Regions from separate parts of the Homo sapiens genome. Here region 2 is linked to region 1. The links are contacts of gene promoters, found by promoter capture Hi-C in human tissues and cell types (Jung and others, 2019). All regions are on one chromosome and are shown on one strand. The core of a region is centred on a gene start or on the middle of the fragment in contact, and the rest is flanking DNA. Distances in the headings are between cores, read along the strand shown. Region 1 holds the start of LAMP1 (lysosomal associated membrane protein 1). Region 2 overlaps DCUN1D2 (defective in cullin neddylation 1 domain containing 2).

Region 1 (2,700 bases), core at 86-2,585:
TAAGCACAAGTGACAGCAAGGTGGGGTCTATCAAAATGCCAGTGTTGAATTGGTCAAATCCCGCCCTTTTTAAGGTCACAGTCCTCTGGTGAGGACTGATAGTGAGTGCCTGGTCCTGTCTTTATCTGGCTGAGTGCTGTCTCTATTAACTAGGTGCACATCCAGTCCCCGTTGCTATGATGCCTTTTGAAATGTAAGATTAAATCTTTTTCTAAGATGTAGGTACTTATGCGACGGGTGCTTTATACAAAGCAGTAGCGTAGGGGCCTTAATTAAATAGTATTTTAACAAAAGGCCATAAATCCTATATGATGACAAGCCAAAAAACAGAGCATCTTCAGACTTCTAAAATGCAGGAGCCAGGCGCCGTGGCTCAGGGCTGTAATCTCAGCACTTTGGGAGGCCGAGGCGGGTGGATTGCTTGAGGTCAGGAGTTCGAGACCAGCCTGGCCAACTGGTGAAACCCCGTCTCTACTCAACATACAAAATCAGCCGGGCGTGGTGGCGCACGCCTGTAATCCCAGCTACTTGGGAGGCTGAGGCAAGAGAATCGCTTGAACCCGGGAGGCGGAGGTTACAGCGAGCCGAGATCGCGCCACTGCACTCCAGCCTGGGCGACAGAGCGAGACTCCGTCTCAAAAAAAAAAACAAAGTGCTCGACAGGAACTTTCTGTAAGCCAAAGAGTATCGCCATCGCACCTTCACCTTCACCTTGGGCAGCCTGGTGCCGTCTTCCCTCAGCCCGCGATTAACGAGCGGAAGGCCGCACTGACCCATTTCAGATCCCTTATTTCCTTCCTAAAACCACTCAAGAGTTTGGGCACAGTGGCCTCCCTGTGTGAGGAACTTGCTTCCCACTCACCAAAAGACAAACCCTTCGCCCATCCCTGGCCGCGCACCCGGCCGGTCACCCGCGCTGCCACCCACACCACCCTCCTGTCCATAAAGAGCCCGCGTTTGGGACGCCTCGCAGGCTGAAGGGAGGCCTGGGCGTCCGCGATCCGTCTGCCCTTTCTCCCCTCGCGGGCTTCCTCTTTCCTCACTTTCTCCCGCCACTACTCTTCCTCTTCCTTTTCCGCGAACCCAGCCCACTTCCCGTTTCAGGACCTCGGCTCGGCCCCAGTCCCCCGGACCAGGCCGGGTCACGTGGGTCCAGGGTCACGTGCCGCTGCGGGTCACGTGCCGCTGCGGGTCACGTGTCGGCCTGCATCACGCGTGAGGGGGCGCGCGGTGCTGGAAGCTGCCGCACCTGCGGGGAGCCGAGCCGCCGGCGCTCGACGCGCGCGCTCTCGCGAGACCCGCGGGATCACGTGACGCCCGGGCGCGGCGCAGCTCACGTGACAAGCGCTGCCGGCCGCGGTGTCTTCTTCGTGCCGGCGTCGCAGTGGCCGGGCCTCTTGCGTCTGGTAACGCCGCTGTCTCTAACGCCAGCCCTTGGCGCCCGCGCCCCGCCACCGCAGCGCCCGGCAGTCCGCGGCCCAACCGCCGCCCGCGCCCCCGCTCCCCGCACCGTACCCGGCCGCCTCGCGCCATGGCGGCCCCCGGCAGCGCCCGGCGACCCCTGCTGCTGCTACTGCTGTTGCTGCTGCTCGGTGAGGGGGTCGAGGCGGGGCCTGGGAGCGGCGGGACCGGGCGGAGCCGAGGTCCCTGGGTCTTGAGGGCGGGGGACTGCCGGGTCGTTGTCCCGCGGGTCGCCCCGCACCCACTGCTCCTGGTCCCGGCCGGCTCTGCCCGCGGGCGGGTGTTTCTCTCGGGGTCGTAGGGTCGGAGCGGAGCTCAATGGCAGGTGCTTGGGGGACCAGGAGGTCTCATCCCAGGACCTGGCTCCTCTAAGGTCTGTCTCACTGAACTCAGTTTTTCTGTGGTGGTGAGTGCGAAAGGGAACTTCCGATGGCTTGCTCGGCGGTCTGGTGCTTTCAGGTCGTTAAGTTTCCTGGCAAGTTGAGGCGGTGAGATCTAGACGAGGCTGCGCCGCCGAAGGTGGCAGGGACGTCTGTGGTCTCAGCTCCCGGGTGGGTGACCTAGATCAAGCTCTTCCCAACATGGATTTCACCCAGGACAGGGAGAAGCCGGTGCGAGCATTCCCCACCTTTGTACTTGAACCTTTCTCCTCTTTCAGCGGTGTGGAGGAGATGCGAGTGTATTTATGTTATTGTGAATTCACATGTATGTTAAAATAATTTTTAAAGTTATCTTTGGGATTTCACAAGATTCCGTAGTAGACAAGATGAGGGAAAGCTGGCCTCAGACTCACGGTGGCAATGTTCATGTCTAGTAAGTAGTTTAAAGAGCGCCGTTCCTGTAGGCCGAAATGCGGGACCAGGGAACACGTGGGGAAGCACCCTTCTCTTCTGTCAGTTTATAGAGCTCAGATGGGCAGTAGGTGCTCAATATTGTATTGACTAGTGAATTTCGTTCTCATTTATTGTCTTAATAAGAGGATGTGTGCTGTCTCTTTAAGACAGTCCGGATTGCCCCCCGCCAACACTATTCTTTCACCTCCTCCCCCCGCCGCCCTCCCCCGTAATATGAGAAGATTATCTTAAATGCCAGGATCTGAAAGGTGATGTAGAATCAAGCTGGGGGAGTGTGTGTGAGTTAAGTAGATATAGAAATACACTCCTGTACACATCTGCCTTGACTTCTTTAAATCCCTCAGTCCCATCCAGCTGTAAAACTCTGTTACTGTGAGTGAATGGA
Region 2 (2,700 bases), core at 15-2,514, 180 kb after region 1:
TTTTTTTTAAATGAAGAAACATTGAATTTGATCAAACCCATCTTATGCACTGGGATGATCCTTTTTTTCCTGTTGTTAACCATGGTAAATTAATTACACCGATTGACTCTGTAACATTAAACGGATCTTGCATTCCTGGATATAACCAACTCTGTCATGATGTATCATCCTGGGCTTATCGTCTTGGGTTTTTTGCTAATGACTGGTCAGTTTCCTGATACTGTGTGTAGGATTTTTGCATCTTATAATCATCTTATGCATCTTCTGAGTCTTACAGCTGAGAGTGGCCTATAATTTTCCATTCTCAAATGTTCTTCCTTGGTTTTGTCATGCAGCTTTTGCTGGCCTTAAAAACAAATTGTGAAATCTTTCTTCCTTTACTTCTCTGGAAGAGGATGTTTAAAATTGGGGATTTTCCTTTTCATTAGGAGTTTGGTAGGATGTGCCAATTAAGTCATCCCAAACAGGAGTTGTCTCTTTGAGAAGATTTTAAACTACAGGCTCAAATTCTTAAGAGTTACAGAACTATTAAGATGTTCTATTTCTTCATGTGTCAGTTTTAGTAAATTACATTTTTCACATACGTTGTCAAATTTACTGGCATAAAGCTCTTCATACATGACTTTTTTTTTTTTAATGCTTCTGGCACCTATTATCTCGTCCCCCTTTTCATCTACGTACGTTACTTGTGATTTACCACATTTACAAGTCTTTTCAAATAACAAGCTTCTAGCTTTATTGATCCTTCCTAATGACAACTTCTTTTCTATTTAATTATTCTTGTAAATTAGTGCTTCTTTAAAAATATTAATTCCTTCCTTCTATATTCTTTTTCTATTTCTTGAGATGGAAGGCTTTGCTCACTGATTTTCAGCCTTTCCTTCTTTCTAAAATATGCATTTAATAAGCTGAATTCTACAAGCTTACATATATTGTATTTTCATTATTCAAGATATTTTCTAATTTCCATTGTAATTTCTTTCTCATCCCAAGGGTTACTTAGAGGTATGCAATATCCACACATATCCCTAGTTATCTTTTTGTTATATTCCTAGTTTAACTGTACTGTGGTCAGAAAACATACTCTGTATCATTTCAAACCTCTGGAAATTGTTGCAATTTACTTAATAGCCCAGTTTATTGTCAATTTTTATTAATGTTCTGTGCCTTTAATAAAGTTTTTTTTTTTTTAATTTTAAACACCAGGAGAGAACACGAACATAGTCCCCCACTACCACAAATTATGCAGTCCAGTTTCCCACATTTGGGAAAACCACAGGCGTCAGCACATCCAGAATGCAATGGATAAGCCCAGCTCTGGGAAAATCACCTTCATGATGATGGTATCTCTCCTGCCAGGCTGTTCTGTGTTTTCTTTTGAAAAGAATATGTATTCTTAAGCATCGAAGGCAACATTCTAAATGTTCTCCTAGGCCATTTGTTGTGCTGTCCAAATCTTCTATTTCCTCACTAATTTTTCATTGACTCATTCCATCAGTTACTACGATGTGTGTGAAAATTCCTCACTTTGATCATGGATTTGTATCTTTCTCTTTGTAGTTGCTTATTTTTGCTTTAAATACATTGGGACTCTTCAACAAATACATAAAAACGTAAGTGTGACTGCCTTCTTGGTGAGATAAGCCCTTTATCATTATGAAATGGTCCTCCTTATCTGTAGAGTTCCTGTATGCCTCAAAGCTGTTTTAGTTGTATCTATTTTAAACAATATGAACAGGTGATATTTAAAAATCCATCTGGGCCAGGCACGGTGGCTCCCGCCTGTAATCCCAGCACTTTGGGAGGCTGATGAGGCAAGGTGGTGTGTCCCCTGAAGTCAGGAGTTCAAAACCAGCCTGGCCAATATGGTGAAATCCCGTCTCTACTAAAAATACAAAAATTAGCCGGGCATGAGGCATGAGAATCGCTTGAACTCAGGAGACGGAGTTTGCTGTGAGCCAAGATCGTGCCACTGCACTCCATCCTGGGTGACAGAGTAAGACTCCATCTCAAAAAACAAACAAACAAACAAACAAGTAGGAGTACACTCGAAAATAATAAAAAGTTGAGTAAATAAGCTAGTAACATAAGCCTTTATATTATCAAGTATTATATACTGCACATAACTGGATGCGCTATGCTTTTTATACGACTGGCAGTGCAGTAGGTTTGTCTGTGCCAGCATCACCACACACAGGCAATGTATTGTGCTATGACACTATGATGGCTGGGATGTAGGAATTTTTTAGCCCCATTCTAACCTTACGGGACCACTGTTGTATAAGCGGTCCACTGTTGACCGAAATGTCATTATGTAGTGCATGACTGTAGTTCAGTAAGCTTAATGATTAAGAGACAGTTACATTAGGCCCTTTCATTTACTTTTATAACTTATCTGATAAGCGAGAAACACCTTAAGTTATTAATGAAGCCTTTATCCCAATCCTGTAGGTAGAATAGAAAAATGTTACAAGCAAAAACCAAAATGACATCTTAGTTTTTAACAGAGCAGCATAAGAAATTCTACGTTTAATATACAGTATTATGAAATAACACGAATGAACTGAACCTGGCATTTACTGTCAATTCAAAATTGGAAAGGAAAAAACTCAAAAAGAAGAAAATGAGTTACAAAAGGGATTAATATGAAAAAAATAAAAATGTGAAATGAAATAAAGTGTTAAATTGAAAATTAAAAGG

What was found. Contacts are between HindIII fragments. The study calls those that stand out against the background at their distance.
Region 2: a contact is called between a fragment that was not itself captured here and the fragment with the promoter of LAMP1 in region 1, in 2 of the 25 tissues and cell types used here (aorta and dorsolateral prefrontal cortex).

The regions. Positions count from the first base shown.
Region 1 is chr13:113,295,904-113,298,603 of GRCh38, forward strand. LAMP1 (lysosomal associated membrane protein 1) reads left to right here and starts at 1,336. Exons shown (of 9, transcript NM_005561.4): 1 at 1,336-1,592. The coding sequence starts at 1,532. RefSeq lists a silencer at 1,467-1,746 and an enhancer at 1,977-2,156. The HindIII fragment of the contact is 17,303 bases long and covers 1-2,700 here.
Region 2 is chr13:113,477,712-113,480,411 of GRCh38, forward strand. All of the region lies in intron 3 of DCUN1D2 (defective in cullin neddylation 1 domain containing 2), which reads right to left. It also overlaps the pseudogene RNU1-16P. Among named protein-coding and RNA genes, the nearest start is that of DCUN1D2, 12 kb to the right of the region's middle. The HindIII fragment of the contact is 4,398 bases long and covers 1-2,700 here.